3 separate regions of the Homo sapiens genome follow, and all the other regions are linked to region 1. The links are contacts of gene promoters, found by promoter capture Hi-C in blood cells and fetal thymus (Javierre and others, 2016). All regions are on one chromosome and are shown on one strand. The core of a region is centred on a gene start or on the middle of the fragment in contact, and the rest is flanking DNA. Distances in the headings are between cores, read along the strand shown.

Evidence for each region. The method cuts DNA at HindIII sites, captures the fragments that hold promoters and counts their contacts. A CHiCAGO score of 5 or more calls a contact.
Region 2: a fragment that was not itself captured here is called in contact with the fragment with the promoter of TGM4 in region 1 in 1 of 17 cell types (total CD8 T cells); the score reaches 5.2 in total CD8 T cells.
Region 3: a fragment that was not itself captured here is called in contact with the fragment with the promoter of TGM4 in region 1 in 16 of 17 cell types (M1 macrophages, naive CD8 T cells, M2 macrophages and 13 more); the score reaches 13.4 in M1 macrophages.

The regions. Positions count from the first base shown.
Region 1 is chr3:44,872,693-44,877,568 of GRCh38, reverse strand. It overlaps TGM4 (transglutaminase 4), which reads right to left and starts at 2,961. Exons shown (of 14, transcript NM_003241.4): 1 at 2,872-2,961. The coding sequence starts at 2,890. It also overlaps the pseudogene PPIAP18. The HindIII fragment of the contact is 7,350 bases long and covers 1-3,252 here.
Region 2 is chr3:44,492,023-44,496,898 of GRCh38, reverse strand. It overlaps ZNF852 (zinc finger protein 852), which reads left to right. Exons shown (of 4, transcript NM_001423469.1): 4 at 1-4,876. Among named protein-coding and RNA genes, the nearest start is that of ZNF852, 16 kb to the left of the region's middle. The HindIII fragment of the contact is 5,935 bases long and covers 1-4,876 here.
Region 3 is chr3:44,529,156-44,534,031 of GRCh38, reverse strand. It overlaps the pseudogene LOC100419748. Among named protein-coding and RNA genes, the nearest start is that of ZNF852, 21 kb to the right of the region's middle. RefSeq lists silencers at 861-1,155, 1,047-1,175. The HindIII fragment of the contact is 4,223 bases long and covers 1-4,141 here.

The DNA of each region.
Region 1 (4,876 bases), core at 1,712-4,211:
CCAGGCTGAAGTGCAGTGTTGCAATCATGGCTCACTGCAGCCTTGAACCTGAGTAGCTGAGTAGCTGGAACTACCGATATGCACCACCATGTCTGGCTAATTTTTATTTTTATTTATTTATTTATTTTTGAGACAAAGTCTCGCTCTGTTGCCCAGACTGGAGTGCAGTCTCAGCTCACTGCAGCCTCCGCCTCCCAGGTTCAAGCAATTCTCATGCCTCAGTCACCCAAGTAGCTGGGATTACCGGTGTACCCCACCACACCCGGCTAATTTTTGTATTTTTTAGTAGAGACGGGGTTTCACCATGATGGCCAGGCTTGTCCCTAACTTCTGATCTCAAGTGATCTGCCCACCTTGGCTTCCCAAAGTGCTGGGATTACAGGCATGAGCCACCTTGCTGGGCCACGGCTAATTTTTAAATTGTTTTGTGGAGACAGGGTCTCACTATGTTTTCCAGGCTGGTCTCGAACTCCTGGGCTCAAGCAATCCTCCTACCTCAGCCTCCCAAATTTTGGGGATTATAGGCATGAACCACCATACCTGGCCTGCTGTTTCAGTTTTATTTCATGACCACCCTCGTTACAAGTAAGGTTGAGCATCTTTTCATATATTACAATTTATATTTCTTTTTCTTTGAACTACCTAATACTGCTCTTTGTCCATGTATATTTTGGGATGTTGGTCATTTTCTTATAGATCTGAGAGCTCTTTTTATACTACAGAACAGCATTTGCTTCTCATATGTGTTGAAAGTACCCTTCACAGTTCCATTACCTTCTGACTCTGGAGGTTTTGTCTTACACATATTTTTAATTTTTCTGGAGTCAGTTTTACTGTTCTTTTCCTTTATGTTTCTAGGTTTTCTATTTTCCTTTGTAACACCTTCTCTACTCTAAGATTATTTTTCATATTGCCTTCATTTTCTTCTATTGCCTTTACAGTTTCGTCTTCGACCTTTCTGGGATTCGTTGTGGGATAAGCCATGAGATAGATATCTGGCTTTGTTTTTCTCTAAATACTAACCAGTTGTCCTAATACCATAAAGTGCACAATTTCTCATTTCCTCCATTTATATGAAATCCTACCTTTATCCCACACATATCACCATCTTCCAGGTCCCTATTTGGATGTCCTGACCTCCTAGAGTGGTTGGAAGAACAAATGAAATCATATTCATGAAAACACCATGGAGTCATCACAACTTGCTAATGTTGTAAGGTGGCATGTGATGGTTACTTGCACAAGCCCATCAGAAAGGACACCTCAGGGAGCGTCAGCTCCCCTCACCAACACCCCAACACTGGTGGCCAGGAGATGACTGTCTTTGGTGATTTAGACCTTGAGAGTAAAGTCAAATTGTGCCCAGCAGGGAGGCAGCATAGTGTGGCATGAAATGAACACACGCCGGGTTTGTGTCCCAGCTCTGCCACCCATGGCTGGGACCTCAGTCAAGTCATCAAACCTCCCCAGTGAACAGGTCACACCTCTTGAAAATGACAGTGTGGGTCAGGACTACCTTTCCTTCAGGTAGTCCTCAGTAATTTATATAGTGCTTTCACGGGATTGATGTAACCTGCCCAAAGCCACAGGGCTATTTAGACATGAATCTTCTCTCAAATCAGCAGGTGCTTCCCATCACACCACACCACCCTTTCTCAGTCCTAAGGACTCTGTACCCTCCAAGACTGAGTCTAGCTGAGGCGTCAGCCATCTAAGGAGGAATTCAAAACTCTGTGGCCTTGGGACTAAAAAGAAGAGTCTGATTTATTTCGCAATGTCACCCTCCAAAAAAGAAGGTGGAAACTAGGAGGGTCTGGCTTAGTCCCTTTGCAGAGTTTCAAAGCAGCCATTCCTTGGCTTATCAAGCAGCTTCTCAAGCAAGAGAGAAGGCTGCTGAGCAAACCCTGCTGGGAGGTTACAGAGGGCTTGTGGGCTGGGGAGTCAGCAGAGGGGTTCAAACCCAGCCTCGTTGTTCCCTAGCAGCACCCGGACTCCCTGAAGTAAAACTGAGGGCTCTGGTGTCTGCTCTTGGTGGTGGTAGGCGGCTGCATCCTCATGGGACACAGAGCCTGGCACATGACTCCGCTCTGCTATTCCCCACTCTGAGAAGCAATGACACTGCTGACAGCAGCAGACAGACCCTCTGCAGTAGGGAAATCCATCAGGTGACCTTGAGAAAGGACAGGACACATTGAGAGACATTCTACAAAATAACTGGTCTGTACTCTTCAAAAGTGTTGAAGTCACAAAACTCCAAGAATGACAGAAGAACTATTCCAGACAAAGGAGACCGAAGAGGCACAACAACGGAATGCAAAGCCTAACCCAGGATTTTCTTCTGCTATAAATGACATTATTGGGACAGTTGATGAAATCTGCATAAAATCTGTGGGTTGGATAACAGTATTGAAATGGTGTTCATGTCCTGGTCTTCATAATTGTATTGGTTACGTAAGAGAATGTCCTTGTCTTTAGGAAATACACACCAAAATATTTAATAATGTAATATCTGCAACTTACTCTCAAGAGTTCAAAAAATATATATTTGTCTATCTATCTGTCTATATCATCTATCTGTCCACTGATCGAGAAGGATAAAGCAAATGCAGTAATAATTTAGGGAATCTGGATAAAGGATATATGGAAATTCTTCTTTTTATTCTTGCAATCTTTTTGTAAATCTGAAATTATGCCTAAATGAAAAGTTTGTGGGTTTTCTAAAAAGGGATGAGACAGAAAGCAAGCAGCACCAGGGCCACAAGTCAGGGTGAGAGGGCAATGGCCCCAGGCACCCGGCAGAGGCAAGAGAGCAGTTTAGGGCCAGCTGGCTGAAGGGGCATGTGGGGCTCCATGGAGATTTCACCCACTCACCTTTTGATGCATCCATCATCCCTTCAGATTCTCTCCTGCAATGCCAGGGAAGACTCTATCTCTGATGCCTGGTGCTTCCACACAGTCGGTCCTCAGGGGAGGAAACAGCCCTTTTTATGTGATCCTGGGCTAGATGTGGCCTTGCTATGGCTGCCAAGGGGCGGGGTTTGGGAAGGCGATGTTGATTAGAAATAATAAAATCCCGGAATCTTCCATATCAGACCCAGGAAATCAGGAGCCAAGATGAGCTGATGTAAAAGGGACAGACAACGGACAATGGCACCTCCTTGTCTGTTATATGAGCCTAACAGTGGGTGACCAAAAGCCAGGACCCTATGACCTACACCACATGTGGCCTGACATTCTGGTTACTATCAAGCTTAAGTCTAGGAACCCAGGCTAACCTTTACTGACTTTAGGGTTTTCTTCTTCTTCTCTTTTCTTCAAGTTGAAAAAGTAAGAGATGCTTGTGAGTTTTTTGTTTTACATTTTGAATATATAATGCATCCACATGGTTCAAAATGGAAAAAAATGCCCCCTGTCCACCTTGTTGAATCCTACTACCAGTTTCTTTTAGATCTTTCCAGAGATGTTGTATGCACTGAGAAGCAAATAATGTACTATTATTATTATTTTGTTATTTAGTTTTTATTTCATAATCATAAACTTAACTCTGCAATCCAGCTAGGCATGGAAGGGAACAAGGAAAACATGGAACCCAAAGGGAACCGCAGCGAGAGCACAAAGATTCTAGGATACTGGGAGCAAATGGGGTGGAGGGTGCTCCCCTGAGCTACAGAAGGAATGGTCTGGTGGTTAAGATAAAACACAAGTCAAACTTATAAGAGCTGTCCACAGTCAGCAATGGTGATCTTCTGGCCGGTCTTGCCATTCCTGGACACAAAGCACTCCATGGCCTCCACAATATTCATGCCTTCACCTTGCCAAAGACCACAAGCTTGCCATCCAACCACTCAGTCTTGGCAGTGCAGATTAAAAACTGGGAACCATTTGTATTGGGTCCAGCATTTGCCATGGACAACATGCCAGGACCTGTATGCTTTAGGATGAAGTTCTCATCATCAAATTTCTCCCCATAGATGGACTTGCCACCAGTGCCATTATGGCGTATGAAGTCACCACCCTGACACATAAACCCTGGAATAATTCTGTGAAAGCAGGAACTCTTATAACCAAATCCTTTCTCTCCAGTGCTCAGAGCACAAAAGTTTTCTGCTGGCTTTGGAACCTTGTCTGCAAACAGCTTGAAGGAGACGCAGGTCTAAAGGCTTGCCGTCAACGGTGATGTTGAAGAACACGGTGGGGTTGACGATGGCTGATGTTACAGGGCTCCTGGCGGCAGTGGCATCTGCAAAGCAAATAATGTATTATTTTGTTTTATTTACACAATGAGAGCATATCACTGCATTGCCCAGGCTGGTCTGGAATGCCTAGGCTCAAGGGATCCGCCCCACCTTCACCTCCCAAAGTACTGGGATTACAGGTGTGAGCCACCACGCCTGGCAAGATGGAGCTGTTCCTATTGCACATGGAGAGGTGGCCCAGTCTTTTCACAGCTGCACATATTCTGTTTGTGTGGATGGTCCCTAATTTATGTAACTCACCTCCCACCCATAGGCATCTGGGTTGCTTCCAATATTTCCTTATTACAATCAGTGTTGCAAAGAATAAGGTTATACAGAGATCATTTTACCCTCACATGAGTGTATCTATAGGAAGAATTGAATGCCTTGAAGTGGAAATGTTGGGCCAAAAAGCATAAGCTTTTGTAATTTTAATGGCTATCTGCTCTGCTCTCCACAGGGGCACTTGTGGTATTTTTCAATGATGTTATGTCTACTGAAAGGAGCCAGCCTGGCATAGTAGCAGAAATGCCAGAGGAAGAGAGGAGACTCCTGACACTGAAACCCCAACACCACAGTAACTTGCCGTGTGTCACTGGGAATGTTGTCTTCATTAGCTCCTTACCTGAAAAGTGAGGGGG
Region 2 (4,876 bases), core at 665-3,164, 380 kb after region 1:
CGCCCGCCACCAGGCCCGGCTAATTTTTTTTGTATTTTTAGTAGAGATGGGGTTTCACCGTGTTAGCCAGGATGGTCTCGATCTCCTGACCTCGTGATCTGCCTGCCTCGGCCTCCCAAAGTGCTGGGATTACAGGCATGAGCCACCACGCCTGGCCTCCATCCCCCAGATTTCTTAACAGGCTGACAGGATCCGCAGTATGACAAAGGTGGAGGAGGAGGCTAGAGGGGCAATGTCAGTCATGTAACCTGGAGGGGTGATTTTGTGCACTGTGGTGTATGTTTCAGACAATGCAGGAGAAAGGAAAGAGAGTTGAGGATCAAGAAAATTAGAATTAAATGTGATTGTTGGGGAGATGTCTCAGACAAAGTTAGAAAGGATTACTGGGGGCCTAAAGTTTTTCAGGGCCTTTTGAAATTTCTAAACTTGTCTGGGCACAGTGGCTCATGCCTGTAATCCCAGCACTTTGGGAGGCTGAGGCGGTCAGATCACCTGAGTCCAGGAGTTTGAGACCAGCCTGGCCAACATTGTAAAACCCCGTTTCTACTAAAAATACAAAAATTAGCTGGGTGTGGTGGTGCACGCCTGTAATCCCAGCTATTCAGGAGTCTGAGGCAAGAGAATCACTTGAACCTGGAGGGCAGAGATTGCAGTGAGCCAAGATCACACCACTGTACTGCAGCCTGGGCAACAGAGCGAGACTCTGTCTCAATAACAACAACAAAACAACAAACCGGAGCTCATGACACGGCTGGAATTTTACCATTTGTGAATATGTATTTTAAATGTTTTCAGCTTGTTTTTTTGTATTTTTTTCCATTTTCTTTTAAAAGATATGCAGATAGGACTTTTTCCTCTTTAACTGTCTTATTTTGGGAGCCCCCAGATTTCAGGGAAGAGCCCCACACTATATGAGCACATGAGTTGGACATTTCTGGTTCCCCGCCCTGAGTTGGACATTGCCAGTCATGTCTGCAGAAGAACCATCCTGCCTGTTGGAAGCTGCAGTTTTACCTTCTGGTTCTTGCCTGCTCATCCCCTACCATACTAAGCCTCCAGAGTGTGGGAATGTGCACCATTTCCTAACTATATTAACTCACTGCCACCAGTCTGGTGTGGGTGCTCAGTACAAGTGAATCCTGAAAAAGCCTCAGGCTCTTGGATGGAGGAAAACTGGCTGCATTTGAAAGCCATACTTCAATTTCTATTGGTCACTGCTAGTATAAACTTTAATTATTGATTTAAACAAATTTTATCTGGATCCAATTATGTTGATAAATTATTTTTAGGTTTAATAATTTGTTAGATTCATTTCCTAGCTTTTCTAGGTTTAGAATAAATAATGATTTATTTGTCTTTTGATGTCACTTATGTTGTGCATTAGCAAGAACTTCAGAAAACATGGAACAGTAGATGTCTTTCTCTTAACGCTTGGGGGAATGTTTTTAGTATTCTGCAGTTTCATATCGTGTTCATTGTTGGATTCTGATGTTCTGTTAGATTTAGGAAGTTTCCTTCTAATCTTATTTCTAGAAGAAGCAGTGTAGTTTAGTGGTTAAGAGCACAGATTTTGTTCCCAGTGCCCTAGGTTCAAATCCTGAGTCCACCACTTTGTTAGGTGTGTGATCCTGGGCAAATCACTTACCTTCCTTGTATCTTATTCCTCCATCTATAAAATGGAGCTACCTCATAGGGTTGTGAAGAATACATTATTGTAACAATACTGGGCACACAGTGCACAGTTTCCCAATTATTATTATACTTACAGTTTTGTTTTCTGTTTTTTTTTTTGACAAGGTCTCCCTCTGTTGCTCAGGCTGGAGTGTAGTGATGTGACCATAGGTCACCTCAGCCTTGAACTCCTGGGCTCAAGAGATGCTCCTGCCTCAACCTCCCCTATAGTTAGGAATACAGGCATGTGCCACCATGCCCGACTAAGTTTTTATTTTTATTTTTTGTAAACATGGGGTTTCACTATTTTGCTCAGGCTGGTCTTGCGGTCCTGGCCTCAAGCGATCATCCTGCCTCAGCTTCTCTAAGTGCTGGGAATACAGGTGTGAGCCACCATGCCTGGCCTATACTTAAAAAGTTTTTATTAGGATTGGTTGCTATATTATATCAAGTTTAAAAACTCCATCATTGTAATTTTATGAGTTATGGTTTTTTCTTTTTGTAATTCATTTTCTTGACAAGTTTGCAAATATTTGCAATTTCCTTGTACTTTTCAAGTAAAATCTATTTGTTCATAGTGAATTTTTATTAAGTACAGAAGTAGATTCAATTTGGTAATGCTTTGCTAGCTTTGCAAAAGAATTTGGAAAAAATTTTGTTTATCTTATTGCTATGGAGAGTTTGTATAACATGGGAATTGTTCCTTGAAGGCTTGCTAAAAGTAACTGGGCCTGGTTCTTTGGGTGAGGGGATTGGGAGGGATATATCTTTAGCAACTGTTTTAGTCAGTTTGAGCTATTATAACAAAATACCATAGAGGATGGCTTAAACAACAGACATTTATTTCTCACAGTTCTGTAGTCTTCATAATTCAACATCAAGATGCCAGAATGGTTGAGTGCTGGTGAGGGCTCTCTTCCTGGTTTGCAGATGGCCCCCTTTTTCCTGTGTCCTCAAATTTCAGAGAGCAAGAGCACTGGTGCCTCTTCCAAGTCTTTTAAGGGCGTTAGTGAGAGTGACAGCCCCATTCTCATGACCTACTCCAATCCTAGTTATTTTCCAAAGGCCCCCCACCCCCAAATATAACATTTGGGGTTAGGGCTTCAACATAAATATTCATTCTATAACATTCCACTCCTAGCCACTCTATTCATATCCTTACATACAAAATAAGTTCATTCCATCCTAACAGCCTCCAAAGTTTTAACTCATTCTAGTATCAACTAACATTTAAAGTCCAAAGTCTCATCTAAATATCTAAATATCTAAATAAAGGCCGGGCATGGTGGCTCACGCCTGTAATCCCAGCACTTTGGGAGGCCGAGGCGGGTGGATCACTACGTCAGGAGTTCGAGACCAGCCTGACCAACATGGTGAAACCCCATCTCTACTAAAAATACAAAAATTAGCTGGGCGTGATGGTGTGCACCTGTAATCCCAGCTACACGGGGAGGCTGAGGCAGGAGAATCGCTTGAACCCGAGAGACAGAGGTTGCAGTGAGCCGAGATCGCACCATTGCACTCCAGCCTGGGCGACAGTGAGACTTTGTCTCAAAAATATCTAAATCAGATATGGGTGAGACCCAAGGTTTAGCTTATCCTGAGGCAAAATTCCCCTCCAGCTGTGAACCTATGAAACCAGACAAGTTATGTGCTTCCAAAATACAGTGATGGGATAGGCAGGATTAGGTATTCCAATTCCAAAAGTGAGAAATTGGAAGGAAGAAAGGGATGATGAGGCTGGGTGTGATAGCTCATGCCTTTAATCCTAGCACTTTGGGAGGCTGAGGTGGGAGGATTGCTTGAGTCCAGGAGTTCGAGACCAGCCTGGGCAACATAGGGAGACCTTATTTCTACAAAAATAATAAAAATAATTAGTTGGGCATGGTGGCTTGAGCATGGGAGTTCGAGGCTACAGTGAGTTGTGATCGTACTGCACTCCAGCCTGGATGACAGAGTGAAACCCTATCAATAAAAAATAAAAAAGGATGGGGGAGCAGGGGGATGATGGTCCTATGCAAGTCTAAAACTTAGCAAGGCACGTTTCATGAGATCTTAGGCTCATGAATAATCCTCTTTGGTCCTATACTGTCCTCTCCAGGACCCCCTGGGCGGTGGTCCTGACCCGATAGATCTGCCAGGCAGGGGTGACTCCCCCGTGGCTTTTGTTGGAGACCATCTGGCCTGTGGAAACTGGGGCAGTATCCCTCATGATCTCTAAATAGCCAAGAGAAGAGTCATTCTTGTATGGAACAATGGACATTCACAGCCTTCCTCATTCCTGGCTTTAGGACTTCAGATACAATCATGTCAGAGCTCAGGGCTTCAACATATGAATTTTGGGGGCACAGTTCAGTCCATAGCAATACTTCCATTCCCCTGACCTGCAACATGTCCAGTTACTTCGAAAAGTACTTGTCATCCACTATATTAATAACATGCTCATTGCCAGCCTATGAAACAAGTTGACCACTCCATACATAAGGTCATAGATAATATGACACATGCAGGTTGAGTTGTCAGCCCTGATAAGATCCCAAGACTTGCCCAACAAGTGCAGTCCCTGGAGCTACCTGGTCCAGTAATTAGAGGAGTATTCCTGATAAAGTCAAATATTGTCCTTGGCAGCCCCCACCTAAAAGAAGCTCAATAGCTGGTATGCCTGTTTGTCTATTGGAGATAACATGTATCACATCTGAGTATTATTTTGCCTCCTTTAGTTAAAATTACCCACAACACAGCCACCTCTGAATGGGGCCCTCAACAACAGCAGACTCGAGAGGCCTACTATGCATTAACATGGGCCTGACATTAATGTAGGCCCATGGAACTACAGGTCTCATTGACTCTTACCCATACAGATTGGATACTGCGGCAACAAGAGACTGCTATCAGGATGCACCAGGCCCTTAGGTTTTGGACATATAAATTACCCAAGATGGTTGCCATATACATTCCCTTTGAATGGCAGCTACTAGCCTGCTATTGGACTCTAATTTAAACAGAACACTTGACCACTGAAGCACTGTATGTGACCTTAAGACCTGAGCTGCCCATCTCATGCAGGTATTATTAACGAAAAATAAAAATGGAAGCCCCAGTTTAGAAATACCCTAAGGCTGACTACCCGCAACCGTGTAACCAAAACTAATCATTCTGATTTTCCTGAAATGCTGTCTCTGATCATAAATGAAATGCAAAATGT
Region 3 (4,876 bases), core at 781-3,280, 340 kb after region 1:
AACCAGATGGTGGGAGAAATGAAGCTCTGCAGGGCATTAGGTCAGATCTTCCTTTCACTTTATTGTAGAGTAGCCTCCACTGCAGGGAGAGAATTCAGCCTGGCACGTCACCTCATGCTATCCAGTGAACCCTGCCCCTCACAGAACACAATTCTGGTCACTCTGGGTGACAGAAGGGGACTTGTAGTCAGTTTCAGCTGCAGAAGGGGTTACTAGCCATGTATAGAACTTTTTTAATTCCAAGAAGTTATGATTTTTAGAATAACTCTAAACAGGCTGGGCGTGGTGGCTCACACTTGTAATCCCAGCATTTTGGGAGGTCAAGGTTGGCAGATCACCTGAGGTCAGGCATTTGAGACCAGCCTGGCCAACATGGTGTAACCTCGTCTCTACTGAAAGTACAAAAATTAGCTGGGCGTGGAGGTGCAGGCTTATAATCCCAGCTACTTGGGAGGCCGAGGCAGGAGAATCACTTGAACCTGGGAGGTGGAGATTGCAGTGAGCTGAGATCATGCCACTGCACTCCAGCCTGGGTGACAGAGCAACACTCCGTCTAAAAAAAAAAAAAAGAATAAACCTAAATATAATCCTAATGTTATACACCTTCCTGTCACCTTCCATCTTGGTGTGCACTTAACACCCCTGAACAGGTTTGACCAGCTCCTTAGAACCATAGTAAAAGACTTTACAATTTGAGAAGGGAACATGAAGAAAAATTTAATCTCATTTATCAAAGTAATACATATTAATCCTGAAAAAATAATTCAGAAATACAGAGGGTAAAAGCAGTCATTCTACTTTTGCATTTAAAAAGTTCTTTGTTGTTTTGGGTTTCCCTAGTATGTTTCTAAGGGGTGTGGGTTGGCTTCACACTCGTCTCTTTCTTTTTGTAGACCCATTTGCCTTATATATTTTAAAGCTGTGCTGATAGGTTCAGGGTGCATGTAAGTTTATGACAAATCATTCAATAGTTACGGAACGGTTGCTGTACACCAGGCACTGTCCAGGGTCCTGAAAAGAGTCAAGAACAGGATAGAACAGGCTAGAAGCGCCATCTAGTGGATGGTACTTGTTTTATACAAAATTTAGCCGGGTGTGGTGGCGCACGCCTGTAATCCCAGCTACTTGGGAGGCTGAGGCAGGAGAATTGCTTGAACGCTGAAGGCGGAGGTTGCAGTGAGCCGAGATCGCACCACTGCACTCCAGCCAGGGCGACAGAGCAAGACTCCGTCTCAAAAAAACAAAAAAGAAATAAATTGGACTATTTGAAGGAGAATCCTTAGTGTTCCCCCCTACCCCCATTTGCTCTCGCTGTCTCTGAGACAGGGTCTCACTCTGTCGCCCAGGCTGGAGTGAAGTGGTGTGATCATAGCTCACTGCATCCTTGACCTCCTGGGCTCAAGCTGTCTTCCCTCCTCAGCTTTCTGAGTAGCTGGGACTATAGGTGTGTGTCACCACGTCCAGCTGATTTTTATATTGTTTTTTTGTAGAGACAGGGGTCTCACTATGTTGCCCAGGCTGGTCTCAAACTTCTGGCCTCAAGTAATCCTCCTGCCTCAGCCTCCCAAAGTGCTGGGATTACAGGCACGAGCCACCGTGCCCAGCCTCTCAGTTCTCTGTTTTCATCATAATTCAACATTTCACAGATTAGTGTTAGTAGTCTATGTCATAAGAAGTTTATTTATAAAGGTAACAAATAGGTTGAAAGATAATTACAGTAATTCTTATGCTCCTATATTAACAAGTATTGAAAAACTTCACCCTCCTTTCTTAGGGGGTGCCATTTAAACTAACAGATGAATTTTAAAGGACTGCTATACCCCTGAAGGTGTGAGAAAGGAGCATTCTATGCAGTGGGAAAAGTTGCTGCAAAGGCTCAAGATGTAACTGATTGGGCTGATCAGGTGACAGAAGGGAGGCCACTGTGCCTGGATGAGAGTCACAGTGTCAGAGGTGCAGTCAGAGTTGGGCAGAGGCCTGCCTGCGGAAGACCATGTTGGCCAGGTTAACCAATTTGAAGTTGCTTGGGGGAGATTAATTTCAGTGTCAGGAGGCCAGTTAGAGCACCATTGCAGGACTACATTTGAGAGAAGATGGTGGCCAGGACTAGGGATGATGTGCTGTGGAGATGGAAAGAAATGGGTGGATTTACAATGCATTTTGGAAGAAGAATAAACTGGACTTGCTGATGTTTTAGATGTGAGAGGGTGGAGAATTAAGAGCAACTTCTAGACTGGGCGTGGTGGTTCATGCCTGTAATCCCAGCACTTTGGGAGGCTGAGGCAGATGGATCACTTGAGGTCAGGAGTTTGAGACCAGCCTGGCCAACATGGTGAAACCTTGTCTCTACTAAAAATACAAAATTAGCCAGGCATGGTGGTGTATGCCTGTAATCCCAGTTACTTGGGAGGCTGAGACAGGAGAATCGCTTGAACTCAGGAGGCAGAGGAGGTTGCAGTGAGCCGAGATTGTGCCATTGCACTCTAGCCTGGGCAACAAGAGGGAAACTCCATCTCAAAAAAAAAGAAAAAAAGAGTAACTTCTAGGTTTCCTGACTTGGACATTGTTCGACAACTTAGGGATTGATTATTGGTTTTTTATCAATATGAAATATTCCATTCTATGCCCATTAAATGCTTAGCCTTAGAGTCTGTTTTGTCTCATATTAATAATTCTACACAGCTTTTTCTCTTGTTGTTAGAACTTGCTTGGTGTACCCTTTTTCCTTCCTTTCTTTTCAACCTTTTCTATTGTTTGGTTTTATTGTAGGTAAATCTCTTGTAAAAAGTCTCCTCCCTTCTCTGTCTCCCTCCTTCCTTTTAATGAGGAAACATAACATGTTTGTATACATTGTGATTAAGGATAGACTTGGACTTTGTAACACTATATTAGTGTCTTTTATGGCCCATGCTTTCTCTCCTATATTCCTCCTTGTCTGCTCTTTGGTGCAGTAAAAATTGAGTGGAAAAACCAGAAACAGGGAGACTTAGAAGGCTTACACCCGTAGGCACACTGGGTCTTTCTAGAGTCACCTTCATCTTTTCTGGGCCCACCTCACATGCAGAGCTTTCTGGTTTAAGACACAGCGAGATAGCTCCCTCTTCATGGCCTGTACCCACTCCCCATTGAAAGCATTGTTTCTCATTCTTTCAAAGACTGTGTTCCTTTCAAATTTTTTTTTTTTTTTTTTTTTTTTCCTGAGACAGCCTTACTCTGCCACCCAGGCTGGAGTACAGTGGTGCAATCTAGGCTCACTGCAAACTCTGCCTCCCAGGTTCAAGCAATTCCCTGCCTCAGCCTCCTGAATAGCTAATTTTTGTATTTTTAGTAGAGACAGGTTTTCACCATGTTGGCCAGGCTCGTCTCGAATTCCTGTCCTCAGGTGATCCACCTGCCTCAGCCTCCCAAAGTGTTAGGATTACAGTCATGAGTCACCACGCCTGGCCTTGAATGTTCTTATTTCCATCCCTTGCCCCCATTTAATTATTGGGCCTCCCAGTCCAACAGAGAATCACTCCTCTTGTCCTGTATTAGAAATGAAATATTCTGATGAAGGATCCGGGAAGACTGACTCCTGCTCTGCCAGTCCCACTTCCTCCATGCTGAATTCCCAAAGGAGATCCATGCAAGGAACAGTAGCCTGTTAGGAAATGGAACTTACCAACTGTATCTCATCATTACTGAGTTGGTGCCTGTTTCCCTAATTCAGGCCCTCTGCTGAAGATGAGTTTGATGACATGACTCTTGGATGACCATAATTTATTGTCCAAACTGGGAAACTCTGTAGAATAAAAATGAGTGAAAGAAAGGGTCTGCCATTAATAATCATACCAAGAAACCATGAAGATCAGTATATGCTGTCCTGCTTTTTAGATCAGACTCAAGCAAGACTTCTACTGCCCTCTGGAGGCTGCAACCAAATCTCAGGCTATTACCCTCTGCCCTGTCCCATAGCAGAAGAACAAAGTCACAAAAAGAGAGGGCAATGAAGGTCCCAGCTTTAAAAGAAACATTTATCATGTCCACTAAATAAGGTTGGCCAGCTAATGTCTGGGACTCTGACTCATCCAATTAGCAACGGCCTCTCTTTTGCTGGGGAACTTTAGAAAGGGGGTGGGAAGGGCAGTTGTCAAAGTAAGCTTTCTCATCAGGAAGAGAAAACAGAGTTTTCCTCCCTGTACAGTTCTCTACTGTGAGAGTTCCTGTCTTGGCTTTCCCTCATCACCTGCTAGCCTTCCCTTGTTTGCTACCGAAGAGTTCAATTCCTTGTAGTTGGTTTGCTGACCCCATCTCCTTGGTGTGCTCTCCATTCCATCTTCTCTGCACTGAGTCTCACAATGGTCTCTGACCTACCCTCTCAAAGGGCCCCACTAGTGTTCTAGTAACTTTCCTGTATGCCTCTTGTATTTGCCTTTTCTATTCTTGGCAGAGGGTTAGAACAGAACTCAGAGCAAGATGTTGATTCTGGTTCAGAATATGATGATAAATTCACTGACATTAATATCAGGGGAAAAACAGATGTTTGAATCTGGAGCAGCCTGTGAAATGAAAAACAACTTAGAAAAGATACAGGGAAATCCTTTAGGAAAGAACATAAATAGCAAGAGATCTCATGTGAAAACAACTAAGGATTAAAAACAAAAATCTCCACAAGTTAGGGAGGCCAGAAATATAAGGGATTTGGACAAAGATTCAGTTCCAGCTCCAACTTAGTTCAACATCACAAGGTTTCCATAGAACGCAAAGCTGTAAATATGGTGAATGTGGTAGAGTTCCCCTGCATCTAGCTTTTCATCATTGAGAGAGAATTCACAGTGGGGTAAGGTTCTGTCAATGTGAGTGTGGGAAGTCCTTCACTCTGAGCTCTATCCCTTAT